3 separate regions of the Homo sapiens genome follow, and all the other regions are linked to region 1. Evidence: promoter capture Hi-C in 16 types of primary human blood cells and fetal thymus (Javierre and others, 2016). All regions are on one chromosome and are shown on one strand. The core of a region is centred on a gene start or on the middle of the fragment in contact, and the rest is flanking DNA. Distances in the headings are between cores, read along the strand shown. Region 1 holds the start of METRN (meteorin, glial cell differentiation regulator). Region 2 overlaps LOC107984906 (a long non-coding RNA gene). Region 3 has its middle 6.1 kb from the start of CACNA1H.

Region 1 (3,018 bases), core at 301-2,800:
GAGGCAGAGGTTGCAGTGAGCCGAGATCGAGCCACTGCACTCCAGCCTGGGCGACAGAACGAGATTCCGTCTCAAAAAAAAAAAAAAAAATGGACCCACTGCACTTGCTTGTCCACTCAGCTGCAGACAGGCCTTTGGGAGTCTTCCACCTTTTGGGGATTGTGATGGCTACTTCTGACCTGCACCTCGCCCAGAGCAAGGGGCTGGCCGAGCCCAGTAGGCGCCTTGTTCCTGTTTGGCCTGGGAGGGCCCTGGGGTTGAGGGAGGGCCTGGTCAGTGGGATCCAGCCTCCCACTGCCACTGAGCCATCTGGCCTCATCTGTCCGACTGCCACTGGTGAACTCATCTGTCCACCATGAGTTTCGAGCGCCGGGTGGCAGGAGGTTTGGGGGCAGGGGACGGAATGTTCACATCTTCAGGCTGCACAGTCTATGCTGGTCCTTGCAGTCCCCGGCTAAAGCTTCTGTCGTCCGTAAGGGGTTCAGTATGTAGTGGGACCCCTTTGCTTGTGCCTTAGGCCTTCTGTGATCTGACCTGTCGTCCCCACCCACCACCCATGCCCTGGGGTTTCACTGGGCTGCCAAGAGCTCCTTCCTCAGGCCCTTGACCCAGGCTGTCTGCTCTCCCCCATTCTCTTCCTGTCCACCTGGCCAGCCACTGCCCACTTCCTCCCATCAGGCCAACTCAGCAGTCCCGGATGCTGGGAATCCCACACTGCTCCAGCCTGAGGCTACAGTGTGTTTGCGAATCGCCTGTTTCTGCTTGTTTCATCTTGGTGGGGGCTGCTCCTGTGGCCCAGGGGTGTCCTCCCAGCTCCTGTGTCTCCACGTGCTGCAGGCCTGCAGGGGTGCCCGTGGCTGCTCCATTCACGCCCCTCCAGGAGCCCCGTCTGGCCCGGGGTCGGTCATCCGGCAACTATGGGGTGCCGCTAGGTCTGAGGAAAGGGGCCTAAGCCTGCGGGCTGCGCGCTCTTCAGCAGGACCCCCTCCTGCAGACGGCCTTACCAAAACCCGAGGCCTGGCCCCGCTCCAAGGCGCAGCCCCCAGGCCAGGCCTTCCCCGCCTCTGGAGTCATGACCCCTCTCCTCTGGGGCTCCACCGGCCTCTGGTCAGCAGGACCGGACCTGGTTGGGAGGGATGTGGCCAACAGGCCCAGGTCCCAGTGTTAGGAAGGAGCAGGCCCGGCCGCCCGCGAGGCGGAACCACCAGGTGGGCCACCTTCCCTACCGCCACCCCGAGGTTCCAGTGGACATCAAAACCTCGGCTCCATCAGAGGCTCCAGGACTCCGATCGGGACAGCGCGGGGGGCGAGGCCAGGGTGAGGGCGCGGCGAAGGAGAGACGCACAGCGCGGGGCGGGCAAGGAGCCTCCCTTCCGCGCCAAGGCCCCCCCCAACCCTCGAGGCGCTTGGACCGTGGGATAGTCCTCCGGCGGCGCCCGAGCTCCGGCCCCGCCCCCGCTCCGCCCCGCGCCTGCTATTGGCGGAAAGTTCCGGGCCGCGCCGCGACTGGCCGACACGCCGCAGGCCCCGCCCCCTTCCCGACCCGCTCCAAGGCGGCCCCGGCGCTGGGGCTGCGCGGCAGGCGGAGCGGCCGCGGGCTTGGGGGCTTCGCCGGGGCCGGGCGGCCGGCGCCCCCGGCTGCTCCCGCCGCCGCCCGGACCCGCGCCCCGCCGGGGCAGCGGTGGTGAGAGCCCCGACTCCCCGGACGCCGCCCGCCGTGCCATGGGGTTCCCGGCCGCGGCGCTGCTCTGCGCGCTGTGCTGCGGCCTCCTGGCCCCGGCTGCCCGCGCCGGCTACTCCGAGGAGCGCTGCAGCTGGAGGGGCAGGTACGGTCCGGGGGGCTGTCCCCGCACTTAGGACGGGGTGCGCTGCGGCTAGGACCCCCCAGGCGCCCCTCGGAGCGCGCAGAGCGCTGGGCCGGTTTCCCCATCCGCGAGGCGGCCTCGGGAGGGAGCGGGGGCTGCGCCGGGCGGGGACCCGCCCCCGTCTCAGCGCCCCGTCCCGTCCTGTCCCCAGCGGCCTCACCCAGGAGCCCGGCAGCGTGGGGCAGCTGGCCCTGGCCTGTGCGGAGGGCGCGGTTGAGTGGCTGTACCCGGCTGGGGCGCTGCGCCTGACCCTGGGCGGCCCCGATCCCAGAGCGCGGCCCGGCATCGCCTGTCTGCGGCCGGTGCGGCCCTTCGCGGGCGCCCAGGTCTTCGCGGAGCGCGCAGGGGGCGCCCTGGAGCTGCTGCTGGCCGAGGGCCCGGGCCCGGCAGGGGGCCGCTGCGTGCGCTGGGGTCCCCGCGAGCGCCGGGCCCTCTTCCTGCAGGCCACGCCGCACCAGGACATCAGCCGCCGCGTGGCCGCCTTCCGCTTTGAGCTGCGCGAGGACGGGCGCCCCGAGCTGCCCCCGCAGGCCCACGGTCTCGGCGTAGACGGTGAGTGGCGGTCTGGTTGGGACAGGGTGGGAGTCCCGAAGTCTTACCCTGCCTGGGCTTGGCGGGAATGTGCCTTGTCGGCCCCACTGCAGAAGGAAAAAGTGAGCTACAAGGGTTGGATGGGCTTGTCAGGCCACACAGCCTGGGACTGCTGGGGAGGGATGGCCTCCCCGCCCTCCCTTCCCGATTCATCTCTGGAAAGAGCTGGCAGGGGCAGAGTGGAGGGAAGGGGAGGCCGGGCCCAGCAATCCTGGGCCTCTGGTCCCTGAACGGTTGGGGGAAGAGATGGTGGGGACAGAATCGAAGCCTCCGGCCAAAGCTGTCCGGGGCTCCCTGGCCCAGCGGTGACCTCTCTCCCCTCCCCCAGCCCAACCAACAAAAGTCCAGTGTGCAGCCCGGTCACCATGGAGACGCCGCTCGCCTCCCTGCAGGGCACCAGGCCCAGCTCTTGCTTGGCTCTCCTGGAGCTTGGCGCCTGACCCTGAAAGGGATGGGCTCTCGCTATTCTGCCCCCTGGCCCTGGGCCAGGGACCCCAGACCACCCTTCCTCTGCCCCCACTTCCTATCACCCTAGCTGGGCTGCTGCTCTTCAGACCTCAGA
Region 2 (3,140 bases), core at 594-3,093, 400 kb after region 1:
GGCGGCCGACAGAGGCTGACGGCTCACTCCTGCTCAGCTCTCATCCTGTCCTCCCAGGCAGTGGGCAGAGCTGGGGACCCACGACCACGGACGCTTTTCCGTCTACCCTTGGCCTAGGGAGGCAAGGCTCTGACACTGCACGTGTGACTCAGTTTACCTGCCTGAAGGCCGGGGGCTGGGGGGCGGTGCAGGCAGCTGTGTGCCTCTCCAGGACTCAGGGCCCTTTGCTGGCCTTCAACAGCAGTTGGCATCCTGGCCCAGCACCCAAGACGCCCCCACCCACCGTGGTCTGGAGCTGCTAAGTGGAGTCTCTGAGGTCCATGGTATGGGCGGGGTCCAGACCCCAGCCTCTGAGGCTGCATGCAGGGCCCAGAGCTGTCACAGACTGTGCCCTGAGCTGCCCGCTGCAGAATGGAGACCAGGACAGTTCCTCCCTCCTGGGTGTTTGCGGGTGAAGCAGGAAGGTGTGCAGTTTCCTCCAGGGAAAGTCCTGGGCGTGCTTGGTGGAGGGAGAGGAGGCTGGGCACGCAGGGCCAGGTAGGGTGACGGTCCCACAGGCTCCCCATCCGAGGTCCCCCCGGGGCTATGCTGGCTCCCTACCTGGGGAAGTCCCAGGCCGCGGGGACAAGCCCGACGCCGTCCCATTCACCTTCACCACCCACCCGGAACCGGCCTTCCAGATACGGCCGAGTTAAACCACGTTCAGAGGGAGCCATAAAACTCCAGGGTGAGATGAGATCACACGCTGATCCTGACTGCAGATCCCGACTGCAGCGGGAAGATAAATGTCTGAGTGTTGAAGGGATTGGAGGAATCGTTGGAAGCAAGATGGATGGTCTCATAGATATGAAAGTGACTTCACGAAGAAACTTCTGCCTGGTGGAACGGAGTGGGACAGAGAGGAAAGGGCAGGGGAACAGGGGCAGGGGGCTGAGGCCCAGGCAGGTTCTGCTGCAGCCCACGCCCACCCGCCAGCACGCAGGGAAGCTTGACTTTCCTACCTCAGCTGTGCCAGCTGCCTGCAGTGCCTGGGCCTTCCATCCATAAGTCAGTGACAGTGAGGGCATGGCCTGGGAGTGAAGGTAGACACAGAACAGTGCCCGACAGGCGGCAGGTGCCTGAGAAGCATTTGTTATCATCGTCACTATCATCACTGTTTTTTTGTTTTTTGGTTTTGTTTTTTTCTGAGATGGAGTCTTGTGCTGTCGCCCAGGCTGGAGTGTAGTGGTGTGATCTCAGCTCACTTCAATCTCCGCTTCCTGGGTTCAAACAATTCTCCTGCCTCGGCCTCCTGAGAAGCTGGGACTATAGGCGCCCACCATCACGCCTGGCTAATTTTTGTATTTTTAGTAGAGACAGGGTTTCACCATGTTGGCCAGGCTAGTCTCGATCTCCGGATCTCATGATCCACCCGTTCAGCCTCCCAGAATGCTGGGATTCCAGGCGTGAGCCCCCGCTCGCGGCCACCGCTATGGTTTTATTCTGGTGTAAATCACGTAACAGAAACCTCACCGTTTTAACTGCCGTAAAGCGTGCAGTGTGGTGGCGTCTGGCACATTCGTAGCACTGTGCAACCATCGCTGCCATCTGGTTCCAGAATCTTTCGTTGCCATCCCCAAAAGGAAGCCCTCAGCCCATGCGTGGTTACTCCCATCTCCCCAGATGCTGGGAACCGCAACTCACTGCTCTGAGCACAGTGTGGAAGAGGAGTCTCAAGCATGTGGTCCTCTGTGTCCCGCTCCGCCCTGATGTGGTGACTTGAGGCCGGTCCCCTCTCCTGGCTGAGTTGTGTTTGCACTGTGGAGACTGTGAGCTGCACTCTGGTAATCATGTCTGTGCACGTTTTTGTCTGAAGACCCGTTTTCAACCCATTTGGGTATATCATTATTATTTTTTTGAGACAGGGTCTCACTCTGTGGCCCAGGCTGGAGCACACTGGTGCAATGGCGGCTCACTGCAGCCTCAAACTCATAGTCTCAGGCGAGTCTCCCATCTCAGCCTCCCAAGTAGCTGGAACTACAGGCACCTGCCACCGCACTCAGCTAATTTTTATATATTTTGCAGAGACAGGGTTGCCCAGGGTGGTCTCAGACTTCTGAGCTCAAGAGATCCACCCACCTTGGCCTCCTGAAGTTCTGGGATTACAGTCGTGAGCCACTACACTGGGCCAATTATTTTTAAAATCCTGCTAAAACCCACCTGAAAAGCCTTAAAGACCGTGACTTTCAAAACATGGGAATGGACCCCTGGCAACGTGAGAGGGCAAGCTCCGCCTTCCTGGTGTCTTTTTTTTTTTTTTTGAGACGGAGTCTTGCTCTGTCACCCAGGCTGGAGTGCAGTGACATGATCTCGGCTCACTTCAGCCTCCACCTCCCAGGTTCAAGCAATTCTCTGTTTCAGTCTCCTGAGTAGCTGAGATTACAGGCACCCACCACCACACCTGGCTAATTCTTTTGTATTTTTAGTAGAGACGGGGTTTCACCATCTTGGCCAGGTTGGTCTTGGACTCCTGACCTCATGATCCACCCACCTTGGCCTTACAAAGTGCTGGGATGACAGGCATGAGCCACCGTGCCCGGCCGGTCCTGCTTTCTAGAAAAAACTGTAGTGCGCGCTCCAGAGACGTAACCCGTTCCCACACCTGAGTGGGCAACTCTAGCCTTTGAACACAGCCCTAGGAAATGACTGCAAATGAGGGGGAAGCTTTTTAAATACAAGGAAAAAGGCATTTGTACCAAGCTACATCGCAGTGAAATTATCATTGGAAAACAGTGGAAAGAGGCTGTGTGTCCCCCCACGGGTCAGGCGCAGTCCCAGGGAGGTCTAGACCCCAAGAGCAGAGAGGCCTACGGGAGGCACGGCTTGTGCCAGGAGGTGGGGTATGCGGCCACCAGGCACTCTAGTTACACAGCGATGGGCTGAAGGCTGTGCATCCCGCAGGGAGTGAGCCCTCCGACCCTGGAGGAGTTCAAGCAGCTGCTTGTCAGGATGCAGCGACAGGAGGGACACCGTTGCAGCCGATGCCCGAGACAGCCAGAGGCTGCCGGCATCCAGCAGCAGAGAGGCTGGGCCTGGAATGGACCCCCAGAAGCTGGCCAGAGGCCTGGCAGTTGGGAAAGGCTCGGTCGTCCTGGGGAGGG
Region 3 (3,212 bases), core at 520-3,019, 430 kb after region 1:
TACGCGGCCTTTGTGGATGCCAACCTTTGTCACAGCCAGGAGGGGGCCTCCCTCGGGAGGGGCTGTTTAAATATTGGCAGTTGACGACTTAACTCAGTTAACCGTAAAGATGAAAAACCTCCCGGGTGAGTACAAAAGGAGCAGGAGTCAGAGTGCCTGGCTGCACAGCTGGGGCCAAGCCTCTCTCTGCAGCCACTGCGTGCGGGGCCGGCCCCTCCACTGGCCACCTGGGGATCGTAGCTGGCTCCTGTCCAGTTCTCCCAGGTGACGCAAGCTGCGGTGTGGGGGCCGCCCCCCGTGCCTGACCCCGGCCCCTCCGCACAGGCCCCCGCCCCGGGTCTGGCTCAGCTGGTTCCTCAGATGTCCCTGGGCGGCCTGGCACCTTCTCTGAGGAGCCCCCGGGTGAAATTCCCCCAAAAACACACACTCTAGGCCCACGCGTGGTCATCTGTGGTTCCAAGGGCCTCGCCTGGCCGAGCCGAGAGCTGGGGCACCCGGCACCTGAGGGTTGGAGGGGTGACGGACCCGGGGCTGCCTGCAGACCCACGTTTCAGGGGCTCCTCTTGTGTGGATCTCCTTGGAGCTCCCGGGGCTGGGCCTGGGCTGGGGTAGGGCGAGGTGGGGGTGTTGAGGGTGGTCTGGTGGCCAGACCTGGGATCTGGGGGACCTGCTGCATTACCTCTTGAGGACTCCCTAAGAAAGGACCCCGTGACTCTGCACCAGCTCAGCCCTTCCTGCAAGCAGAGGGGCTGTGCAGAGCTGGGGGCTGGTGAGGGAACCAAGCAGGGGAGAGGGGCACCCATGTCTGCTTTGCGCCTTCCACGGCCCCTTGAAGTCTGTCTGGAAGCACCCGGCCTGGGCTCACCCCATCCTGTCACTTTCCCTCCCAGGTCAACCCCTCCTCCTTCCCACTCCACAGTGATCCGGGGGATTCAGCAGCTCAGGCAGAGTTGGGTGCTGCCAGGCACGTGCCCTCTGCCCACCCCCACACACCCCAGACTCAGCTCCCTGCCCCCCATGCCCTCGGAGGAGGCTTCCCTGACACATTTGGGTCCAGGAGACTGAACCAGACGTGTCCACCCCGGCCTCAAGGCCTTGGCCCAGGCCAGAGGCAGCCCCACCCCTAGGGCCTCCGAGATCCTGCGGACCCCAAGGGACAGGCTGAAGGCTCTGCTCCCCCAGCCCAGCTCCATCCTGGGTTCTGTCTCCTCCCATGAGGCCACGCCCTCTGGCTCCGCCCCCACAGGGAGCTGTTAAAAATGGCCTCCCTCTTTCTGAGCCTTTGTCACGTGCGGGCTCCCATCCTTCATGACTGCTTTCACAGCCTGAGGCGGAGCTCACACACGGACGGACGGCTCACCCACTTATGGGTGAGTTTTCAGTGCACCCAGCGGTGCAGCCGTCTCTGCAGGTCTCGCTCTGTCGCCCAGGCTGGAGTGCAGTGGCACAATCTCCACTCACTGCAGCCTCGACCCCTCAGAGTCAAGTGATCCTCCTACCTCAGCCTCTCGAGTAGCTGAGATCACAGGCACCACCACCACACCTGGCTAATTTTATTTCATTTTTTTTTTTTTTTTTTTTGTAGAGACGGGGTTGGGTCTCAGTATGTTGCCCAGGCTGGTCTCAAATTCTTGGGCTCAAATGATCTTCCTGCCTGGCCCCCATAAAAGCTTGGATTGCAGCTTTTATGGTGGTGTCAACTGTCACCGCCCTAAAATAAACCCCTTTCTGTGTTAGTCTGTTTCGTGTTGTTGTAAAGGAATGCTTGGGACTGGGTGATCTCTAAAGAAAAGAAGTTGATTTGGCTCACGGTCCTACAGGCTGTATAGGAAGTACAGCGCAGGTATCTGCTTCTGGGGAGGCCTCAGGAAGCTTCCAATCATGGCAGAAAGGAAGGAGAACCCAAAAGTCACATGGAGGGAGAGGGTGCCAGGGAGAGGAGGAGGTGCCAGCTGCTGTGTGAACTACTGGAGCAAGAAAGCACTCATCATCACTGGACAGCAGCAAGCCACTCCTGAGGAATCCGCCCCTGGTGCAGACACCTCCCACCAGGCCCACTTCCAACCCTGGAAGTCACGTTTCAACATGAGATTTGGAGGGGGGGCCACACATCCAAACCAAACAAACCCTCTGCTTGCTAGACGTCTCCCCTCCCCCACCCCCCCTCCCCCAGCCCTTGGCAGCCACCCCTCTTTGTTCTATGGATTTACCTGTGCTGAAAATCTCATCTAATGATCCTATGATGTTTGTCATTTTGTGTCTGGCTTATTTCACTTGGTGTGATGTCTTCAATGTTCATCCACGTGTGTCAGAATGTCATTTTTTTTGAGACAGAATGTTGCTCTGTTGCCCAGGCTGGAGCGCAACGGCGTGATCTCTACTCACTGCAAGCCCCACCTCCCGGGTTCAAGCGATTCTCCTGCCTCAACCTTCTGAGTAGCTGGGACTACAGGCGCCCACCACCATGCCCGGCTAATTTTTGTATTTTTAGTAGAGACAGAGTTTCTCCGTGTTGATCATGTTGATCAGGCCGGTCTCAAACTCCCAACCTCCTGATCTGCCTGCCTCAGCCTCCCAAAGTGCTGGGATTACAGGTGTGAGCCACCGCGCCCGGCTGTGTCATTCCTTTTCATGGCTGAATAATATTCCACCATATGAAGAGGCCACATTTTATCTGCTTATCTGTGGGATACTTGGGATGTCTACACCTTTGGCTTTTGTGAACGATGCTGCTGTGGACACCCGAGTCCACAGTTCTGTGTGGACACACATTTTCATTCCTCTTGGGCACACCCGGAACAGAAATTGCCAGGTTGCATGGTAATTCCATATTTAATCATTTGAGGAACTGCCTGTTCATGATCACTTTTTATTTGATGAAGCATTGATTTTCCAGAGAAGGAAATTTAAGGCTCAGAGAGGGTAAGACACATGTCCAAGGCCACACAGCCAGGAAGTGGTGGAGCTGGCATTTGAACCCAGGCCGTGCGTCTGCAGAGCCAGAGAAAGGCCCGGAGCTTCCCTCCCCAGGTCCCCAGGCGGCCTGCGGGCCCCTCCACAGCCCAGTGATCCTTCAAGCACTCCCAAGCCCAGCCTCCGCCTGCAGCCCCTCCACAGCCTGTCCAGGGCAGGGAAGGGCCACCTCACAGGCCACGGCCTCTTCCGCGCAGTGCCTGGGGGCCGGTCTTGGGGACAGTGGCGTGGTGCCCCTG

The links. The method cuts DNA at HindIII sites, captures the fragments that hold promoters and counts their contacts. A CHiCAGO score of 5 or more calls a contact.
Region 2: a contact is called between a fragment that was not itself captured here and the fragment with the promoter of METRN in region 1, in 3 of 17 cell types (naive B cells, naive CD4 T cells and total CD8 T cells). The highest score is 6.8, in naive B cells.
Region 3: a fragment that was not itself captured here is called in contact with the fragment with the promoter of METRN in region 1 in 1 of 17 cell types (naive CD4 T cells); the score reaches 5.2 in naive CD4 T cells.

Annotation. Positions count from the first base shown.
Region 1 is chr16:713,568-716,585 of GRCh38, forward strand. METRN (meteorin, glial cell differentiation regulator) reads left to right here and starts at 1,551. Exons shown (of 4, transcript NM_024042.4): 1 at 1,551-1,826; 2 at 2,017-2,417. The coding sequence starts at 1,723. RefSeq lists enhancers at 567-1,165, 1,764-2,361, 2,362-2,959, 2,960-3,018 and silencers at 1,310-1,619, 1,720-2,149, 2,250-2,309. The HindIII fragment of the contact is 3,687 bases long and covers 459-3,018 here.
Region 2 is chr16:1,109,118-1,112,257 of GRCh38, forward strand. LOC107984906 (a long non-coding RNA gene) reads left to right here. Exons shown (of 2, transcript XR_007064936.1): 1 at 1-3,140. Among named protein-coding and RNA genes, the nearest start is that of C1QTNF8, 14 kb to the left of the region's middle. The HindIII fragment of the contact is 1,716 bases long and covers 986-2,701 here.
Region 3 is chr16:1,145,369-1,148,580 of GRCh38, forward strand. No RefSeq gene overlaps it. Among named protein-coding and RNA genes, the nearest start is that of CACNA1H, 6.1 kb to the right of the region's middle. RefSeq lists an enhancer at 1-395. The HindIII fragment of the contact is 202 bases long and covers 1,669-1,870 here.